Linked DNA regions of Homo sapiens: region 1 is linked to region 2. The links are contacts of gene promoters, found by promoter capture Hi-C in human tissues and cell types (Jung and others, 2019). All regions are on one chromosome and are shown on one strand. Each heading gives the region's core, a stretch centred on a gene start or on the middle of the fragment in contact. The rest is flanking DNA. Distances are from core to core; before and after follow the strand shown. Region 1 overlaps GBA2 (glucosylceramidase beta 2). Region 2 holds the start of RUSC2 (RUN and SH3 domain containing 2).

Region 1 (4,277 bases), core at 1,252-3,751, 260 kb before region 2:
GGAAAGGGTAGGAACATTTGGTCATGCAATCAGCCTTTCCCATTCAGGCTCTTCTCACATACTGGTTTCCAATGACTTCCCTTTGGGATTAGCTATACTTTGTGGCAAGGTAGGAAAGGATAATCTGGCTGCTGTGATACTAACACAATGTTGTTTTATTTGGGGGTGGGGGGGTCTCAACCCCTTATTTCCCACAAGCAGCTGGGGCATTCTCTGTACCTCATTAGACACACTGTTAGAGTCCCAACACTACTGCTTCTTTCTTCAAGCTTTAGCTCCAGGGAGTAGGTAAGAAGAGCCTCCCTGCCCTCACCTCTGAAGTGATGAGAAGGTGCTGTCATTCTGTTCTGGGATAGAGAGCTCTTGATATTAAGTCATTTATCAGAGAGGCACTGCCATAGATGTAGAACCCATCTAGATCCCCACTGAGTTCAAAGACTAGTGATGAGGAGCCAGACCCATTAACAGGAACAGGTGGATGTGAGGACAGAAAGCATCACCCTGAGGTCATCCTGACTCAGTCTACACAATACACACAGAACTGTGGAGGGAGGCATAAAGCTTGGGAAACCCTGCCCTTACAGTTTCTAGAGTAGGAGACCCTTCATTTCCCCAGTCAGTGCTGTGGGGCTGTGATGGGGAGATCAGTTATCTAACCCTAGCCCTGGGGAGTGGGAAGGGCCTGATGCTGCCTGCACATCTGGCTTTGTTGGTGCCTGTGGGTAGCCTGTAGCAGAGAAGAATCATCCCTCCAGGCTGCTTCTGGAATCAATTCAGTCCAAGTTTGACCCCAAAAGTTTTTGCATCAAAATAGGATCTAGTGTACATAGAGAAGTACACTGAGTTGCATGTGGTAGGAACAATGAGATCAAGAAAAGATGGGCATCCTAGCCTCTTAGCCCTTAAATATGAACTGAGTCATAGAGGCCTGAAGCTGTGCTCAACCCCCTGGACCCTGGCTCCCCATTCCAGGATAGAGTGGGGGGTACTGATACAAGGCTTTTGGAATAGGATGAGTTCCTATGAGGAGAAAGCACAGGTGAGACAAGAATTCTAAGTGATAACTCTTGAGTTGAGGTTGAAATTGTGGAGAAGGCCAAATAGGTCAGGAATGGCCAGCTACCATATTAAGGGAGTAAGAGAGCTCCTAAGATGGAGCTGAACTGTGGGCACTCTGACCAGGAGCTCTAGCAAGACAGAATTCTCTGGGTCTTACCTTCGTAAGAACTCAATTTCAATTGTTCTCCCTTCCAGCCAGAGTCCACTCATTCAATAAATATTTATTGAGTGCTTGTTCCATGCCAGATAGTCCTTTGTTCTGTCTGTCCTCATAGATTGCAGTTACTCTCCCTGGTTGCCCTAATCCTCGGCCACACCCTCCCTCTACCAGTCCTTTCTGGTCTCTAGTTTCAAAGTCCGGTTTTCTCTAAGCTGGCAGAGAGGATTCTCTGCCTTCCTGTCATCCCATCCTTTGTCTTCCCTCTTCTTTCCACCCCTAGAATGTGCTGTCCCTTTTTATTTTATTATTATTTTTTTTTTGAGACAGTCTTGCTCTTGTCACCCAGGCTGGAGTACAATGGTGCAATCTCAGCTCAGTGCAACCTCCGTCTCCTGGGTTCAAGCGATTCTCCTGCCTCAGCCTCCTGAGTAGCTGGGATTGCAGGTGCCTGCCACCACAGCTGGCTAATGTTTTTGTATTTTTAGTAGAGACGGGGTTTCACCACATTGGCCAGGCTGGTCTTGAACTCCTGACCTCACGTGATCCGCCCACCTCGGCCTCTCAAAGTGCTGGGATTACAGGTGTGAGCCACCGTGCCTGGCCGCTGTCCCTATTCATTAATCACATTTCTTCTCCTCTGCTCCAGTCTGTTATCTCTCTTGTGCCCCATCATTTGTATGTTCATTCATCTGTAAAATTGGCAAATATGCATTGACTGCAGACCATATGTCCTACCCTGTGCTTGGACCTGAGGGTAATATTCAGCTAGTCTTTGTCATTGTCCCTTTCCCCAAGGAACTTAAAAGTATGTCAGCCTCACATGAGGAACATTGAAATAACAAGGCAATGTCTGATTAGGAATTGAGATAACAGTTTGTATATATGAGTAATAATCATACCTGTACTTTATGGCTTTCTTATCTATTATGTCATTTGATCTTTCAACCATTTCATTAGATAGCTAGAGCAGGTGGTATCCCCATTTTGTAGATGAGGAAACTGGGACTTAGGGGTTACTTACCCAATTATTTGGTTAGAAGTGGTGTGACTGAACAGTAGGCATAATGTGGCAGTAGGCAGGAGAGTGGAAATGGGAAAGAGTCTGGCAGGGCAGGGGCTACTTAGTGAGGACCCATCTGGAATGAGAATTTGTAGGAAATAAGATTAGAAGATAGGCTGGGACAGATGTCAGAGCCTTGAAAACAGAATCGTTTGCCTATTGAAAACAGCCTCAATCATTTGCCTCTTGGATATAGGGCTGTACCAAGCCCAGGAAAATGTTGGGATTTTTTGAAGGCTTTACCAAGAGCAAAATCAGAAAGCTTCACAGTTTAAATGTTGAATTTAAAAAAAAAAAAAAAAAAGGCTTGAGAGGAAATGTCCAGAAATAAATATAAACACTGATTGTCTATGGGTGAGATTATTTTTTTCCCCCTTTCACCTTTCATAATTAGAAAGAAAAATGATCATTTTAAAAAGAAGAAAGGCCAGAAGCGGTAGCTCACGCCTCTAATCCCAGCACTTTGGGAGGCCGAGGCGGGCGGATCACCTGAGGTCAGGAGTTCAAGACCAGCCTGGCTAACATGGTGAAACCCCATCTCTACTAAAAACACAAAAAAATGTGCCAGGCATGGTGGCGGGCACCTGTAATCCCAGCTACTTGGGAGGCTGAGGCAGAAGAATTTCTTGAACTTGGGAGGCGGAGTTTGCAGTGAGCCAAGACCGAGCCACTGCACTCCAGCCTGGACAACAAGGAACGAAACTCTGTCTCAAAAAAAAAATAATAAATAATAAAAATAAAGATAAGAAAGTTATTCCCAGCAGCCTATGCCTGTTTTGGAGGTAGGGGATTGGGGGCGGAGGCTGTAGGCCAGGAAACCATAAATGGTCCTTTCAGCACGTCAGACAGAAGCTCCTGATGTTGGAAATAAAGCAGTGGTGGTGGTGCTAGAGAGGTAAGGAGAGATCAGAAAGCCCCTTCTGAGGAGAACAAAGGAGAGAAACAAAGCCACTCCTTCACTTCAGCTGGGGTGACTGGGAAGATGAAGGGACCTTGAACTGTATAGAAATCAAGAGGAAGAAAGGTTTGAAAGCAGATGTCCTTGGGACATTTAATGGGAGGTCACAGAGAGAGGCAGGTGACTCAGCCTGTGAACAGCTGCCCACCTGCCCCCTTCCACTCACATTGCCTCTTGCTCCTCAGGTACCTGCAGTGGTGGTACCGGAAGACCCATGTGGAAAAGAAGACACCTTTCATCGACATGATCAATTCTGTACCCCTAAGACAGATTTATGGTGAGCCCCACCCCATCTCTGCTCTGCTCAGAGAAGGCCTAGCCTCCAGGTCTACCACAGTTAGGAAGAGACTTCCAGCTTATGCAAATTGCACTGTTCCATCCCCTAGGTTTTCAGAGGAACCAGGCTTTATAGTCTAGAAAGTTAGAAATGGGCTTATTTTCCTCTCCCAATACCCCACTAACCACCCTGATTTCTCTAGGTTGTCCCTTGGGTGGCATCGGGGGAGGCACTATTACCCGTGGCTGGAGAGGCCAGTTCTGTCGTTGGCAGCTTAACCCTGGAATGTATCAGCACCGGACAGTCATCGCTGACCAAGTAAGAGCCAGGAGGTGGAGAGGCCAGGACAATACCTCCCCAGGCCAAGAAGGAAGGACCTCTTGGCTAGTGTAGAAGGTAGCAGTTAGATGTGAATAAGATTCAATCTAATAAGTACTCTCGGGATGCTTCCTGTGTGCCCAGCCCTGAGCTAGGATATACCGTAGGAATAAGACACACACAAGCACACATTCCTTGAAAGAGTAAACAGATCTGGCATTTCTCTAGTAAATGCCTCCTGTCTACCTCACTGCCCCAACCCAACTAGCTGAGGCAGCCCCCAACCACAGAGAATGCAGAGAATTCCCAAATCACTTAACCTGCCTGAAAGAACATTTTGTAGGACTGGAAGGGAAAAGAAAACCCAAAGTCTATAAACTCATGGGAAAAAAAGACACGTAGTACAAGGTTCCTCACCCTGATTGAGGAACCTTCACCAAAGTTC
Region 2 (4,565 bases), core at 1,248-3,747:
CCTTCTACCCCATCACCTAGCTCTATCAGAGCAATGTTGACATCTGGCTACTCAAAATGATGCTCTCGTTTCGTATGACGGACTCATTTGACAAAAATTATATTAAATGCCAATGTCTGAATGGGTGTTTTTTTTTTTTCCTGGGTAACTTCAACACTGATCAATCAAGACCATTTCTAGATAGCCTGCCCTTACCCTAACATGAAGTGAACCATCTCTTCAGTCAAGTGACTTTTAGCAGGGTGCATAGTCATTGTGTATGAGTAACAGGAAGAAAAGGGTGAGTTATTATCCTAAATTTGCAGATAAGCCCAGAGAGAAAAATAGAACACATAAGCCCTCCCATGAACTTGCCAGATTTAGCAAGTAAAAATACAGGACTCCCTGTTGTTTATTTGAAATTCAAATTTAACTGGGCACTCTGCGTTTTATCTGGCAACACTGAAGTATTGGAGGTGAGGAGAAAAATAACCCAGGGTGTTCTGGGGTAACTGAGGTCTTAACAGGAAGCCTAGACAGGAAAAAGTAGAAAAGGCCATTAAAAAGATACTGTTAAAAAAAAATTGTATTGCTTAATCCATCCAGATCAGGAGCCCCTCCCCACACTGGGTTTCTATGATCCAAGGCTTTATTTTGAGACAGAGCATTGCTCTGTCACCCAGGCTGGAGTGCAGTGGCATGATCTCAGCTCACTGCAACATCTGCCTCCCAGGTTCAAGGGGTTCTCCTGCCTCAGCCTCCTGAGTTGCTGGGACTTCAGCCTCCTGAGTTGCTGGGACTACATGTGCACACCACCATGCCCGGTAATTTTTGTATTTTTAGTAGAGATGGGGTTTCACCATGTTGGCCAGGCTGATCTTGAACTTCTGACCTCTAGTGATCCGCCCACCTGGGCCTCCCAAAGTGCCGGGATTACAGGCTGAGCCACTGTGCCTGGCCTGATCCAAGACTTTATAAAGACATGTAAGAGGGTGGGAGACAGAAAGCGGAAAAGGATACATCAAAACTAGCAATGGATGAATGAGAACATGTCCAGCCTCCAGTTAAGGCAACTGTGGCTTCAAAAAGGAATCTTAAATACCAGCACAGAAATCAGAGGGATCCTAACCTGGCTCAAAACAGAAGAGAAACAGTGGCTGGCCATACAGCAGGACGGGCATAACTAACAGAATACCAGGTATACTGTTTGGATCTGCTCTTCCTTCCATTAAGCCATCCACCACTGCTTAATATCTAAGGAGCCGGCTAAGAAAATCCAGTCACTACTTTTATTTGCTAATACTTTGAGCCCCAGTTACAATAATGCCACTACTAATTAGGTAACTACTTTCTACCTTATCAACTCCTACAGCTTTCCAGCCATTGTTTCATCCCTCAGCGATACCACCTGCTTCCGCGTGGAACCCAAACCCCCAGGAAACTAAATCTGCTCAGGTCACCCACCTAGGAATAAATAAAAACAGGTTTCAGGCCCTTTGTCCTTTGTAAATTCCGCCTTTTTTTTTTTTTTAAGGCCTGTGTTCTTTATCACGGACACTGTTCACATAGTGGTAATCCTTGCCTGACTCAGATCTACTTGTTCCTGCGTTTCATTCCTCCGCTGCTCAATTACTTGTTCAAAACGCAAAGGACAACTGGTAGTGAAGACCCTCCACCAGCAACACTACCATGTGCCAGGCACCGTGCTGGGGACCGGGGATACAAAGATGAGTAGTGTACCGTCCTTGCCCCCAGGACAGTTCCCCGTGTCCGCAGGGCCGGCCTGGAGGGCCACAGCCAACTGTGGGCAACAGGATCACCGTGCCCTTCGCGGCAAGTGAGTGCAGTAGTAGGGGACGGTTACTGCCAAGCCAAAGGTTTTCTCCAGGTAAAACTGGATGACAGAGAGACAGAGACTGAAGCAACGCCGGCGCCGGGCGGATAATAAAGGGAGGCAGGGGCTAAAAGGGTGGAGGGAGCAGAGGACCCGGCCGGGAACTGGCAGTAGGGAGGCCCCCGCTGCAGTCGCCGGCCTGGGTGCCGGGCGGCCACGCTTCCCCAAAGCCGTCACAGGGACTTGGGGTACCAAGGTGACTACTGGGCGCGAGTCGTTTTGTGGGGGGAGGGTGTCCCCAAGGGGGCAGTTTGAGGAGACGGTTGGGGATGCATCTGGGGTGGCGCCCAAAGGGACGGTGGGTGCTGGGTGTTTGAAGGTCCGGTGGACGCAGAGCTGAAGGGTCAGGAGAAGGCCAAGGGTCAGAAGGGCTGGGGACGAGGTCTGCCCAGGGGGTCGGGGCGGACGCAGAGGGCGGGTGCAGCCGAGGGGGAAGGGCTGAAGGGAAGGGCAGGCGCTGAAGGCACATAGGTGGGAAGACAGGCCCTCCCCTAAGGGAGACCTTGGAACGCGGGGCAGTGGGTCTGTGGGACCCTGCCCGCCTCCGGAGAGGCGTTCCTACCTCGTTTCTCGCCTCAGCCTCGTCCTTCCGCGCCGGCGGCGGCGGCGGCGGCGGCGTGTCTCGCCCTCCAGGGGTCGCGTTGCAGGCTAGAGGCGCCGGCGGCCCCTCCCTCCGGGCGGGTTGGAAAGGCCGGCCCCTGTCGGCGTGGCGCGATGGTCCGATCTGGGTTGCCCTCAGGCCGCCCCTCCGGGCGGCGCGTTGGTTCGGTCCGCCCGGCCTAAGGTGCTCGCCCCCTCCCCGGCTCCCGCAGCGATGGGCGCAGCCGAGTCACGCGCAGAGCTTTCCCGCTAAGGGAGCGGAGAGGCTTCCGCCGTGGCCCAATCTTCTGCGGCCCGCGCCCGCCCCCGCGGGGTGGTGCCTGGCGACGCGCGGCTCCCGGGTGCTGGAACCCAGGGAAACCTTCCGCGGGCCTCCAGGGCCGGTGGGTGTGAGTCCCAGCTTCGCCTGAGGCGGCGGTTCTCAACGCTGGCTTCCCAGTAGAACCTAGTGTGGAAACTAACCAAACAACAGAAGGAGGGCTGACCTCACACTGGACCGACTCAGAACCACTGGGGTGGAGTGGGGTGGGGTGAGGTGGGGTTGGCCTCCAGTGCATAGCCAGGGTTCGGAACCCCTGATGAAACGTAGAACCCATGCGCCCCCTGCCCTTCAGGGCCGGATGTGTGGGGGACATGGAAGATGCCTGTGTGTGACTCCTGCTGTTTACAGCCAGAGGGGGATGGGGCAGGCAGTCCTGCAAATGTTATGGGAAACCCACTGTATTAGTCCGTTCTGACACTGCTATGAAGAAATACTATGAAGGAAAGAGGTCTGACTCACAGTTCCGCATTGTTGGCGAGGCCTCAGGAAGCTTATAATCATGGCAAAAGGCAAAGAAGTAGCCATCCTTTTCGCAGGGTGGCAGGACAGAGTGAGTGCAGGCAAGGGAAATGCCAGACGCTTATAAAATCATCAGATCTTGTGGGACTCACTCACTGTCACGAGAAGGGCGCAGGGGAAACCAGCCCCATCATCCAATTACCTCCACCTGTTCCCGCCCTTGACACAGGGGGATTATGGGAATTACAATTCAAGATGAGATTTTGGGTGGGGACACAGCCAAACTGTTACAGGTAGTTAGGCATGAGCGGGGCAGGAGAGGGTTCTCCCCTGCTACCCACTAGGGATGTTGGGTGATGGTTCTGAGGCAGGAGAATAGGGACTGGAGGCAGGGAACCTAAGACTGGTTCATGCCAACTTCCTGGAACTAAATTGAAAGGAAAACCCTAACTTTCCACACCTAAGTAACAAACCCCCCACCCAACTTTTCTGCCCAGCAGATGGGAAATTGGCTATCTGCAACCAATTAGACTGACTGCAGCCGAGTCTAACTTTGCATAGAAGTATAACTTTGTAACTTCACCCTAGCCTCTGATTGGTTGCTTCTTGCAACCAATCAGATGTTTGCACAGGTGTGCGACCTTTGTAACTTCACTTCAGCCTCTGCTTGGCTGCTTTCTGCAACCAATCAGACTGATTGCAGGCTACGAATTCATTTACATGAGGTGAGCATGAAGTGGCGGGTAACTTCTAGGGGGTATTTGGACCCAAGAAGATTCTGTTTCCTGGCCCTTGAGCCGCTGCTCCGGCTGCTCCCACACTGTGGAGTGTGCTTTCGTTTTCAATACATCCCTGCTTTCCTTCTTTTGTTCCTTCATTCTTTCTTTGCTTTGCTGGGCGTTTTGTCCAATTCTTTGTTCAAAACGCCAAGAACCTGGACAACTTGCAGTCAGACCCTCTACCAGTGACAGTTCCATAATTACCTCATTGCTTCTTTAAAAAGGATAATTCGGCTGGGCCAGGGAGAGGCCATTTCCTGATGGTCCACACATGTTAACATCAAAATGCTAATTGAATGCAGGCCTCAGGGAGAAGCAACTTTCTGGGCATGCGTGTTAAGAGACAAAAATGGTGACGTATGATCTCCTGGGGGCACCCTCCACCGGAAAACGGGAAGGAAAGCACTGCGCATTCGGGAAGCCCACTCTAAGGGAAGAATCATGGGAAAGAGGCCAGCCTGTAAAAGTCCTAGGATCTTGGTTAGGCACTTGACCTTCTCTCTTTAACCTTCACGTGCCCGCTTGGGTTTCT

The links. Contacts are between HindIII fragments. The study calls those that stand out against the background at their distance.
Region 1: a contact is called between a fragment that was not itself captured here and the fragment with the promoter of RUSC2 in region 2, in 1 of the 25 tissues and cell types used here (dorsolateral prefrontal cortex).

Annotation. Positions count from the first base shown.
Region 1 is chr9:35,743,852-35,748,128 of GRCh38, reverse strand. It overlaps GBA2 (glucosylceramidase beta 2), which reads left to right. Exons shown (of 17, transcript NM_020944.3): 2 at 3,423-3,514; 3 at 3,717-3,832. Among named protein-coding and RNA genes, the nearest start is that of GBA2, 3.2 kb to the left of the region's middle. The HindIII fragment of the contact is 5,426 bases long and covers 1-4,277 here.
Region 2 is chr9:35,488,043-35,492,607 of GRCh38, reverse strand. RUSC2 (RUN and SH3 domain containing 2) reads right to left here and starts at 2,497. Exons shown (of 12, transcript NM_014806.5): 1 at 2,436-2,497. LOC105376026 (a long non-coding RNA gene) reads left to right here and starts at 981. Exons shown (of 2, transcript XR_929580.4): 1 at 981-1,177; 2 at 1,352-1,489. RefSeq lists a silencer at 2,529-2,828. The HindIII fragment of the contact is 10,278 bases long and covers 1-4,565 here.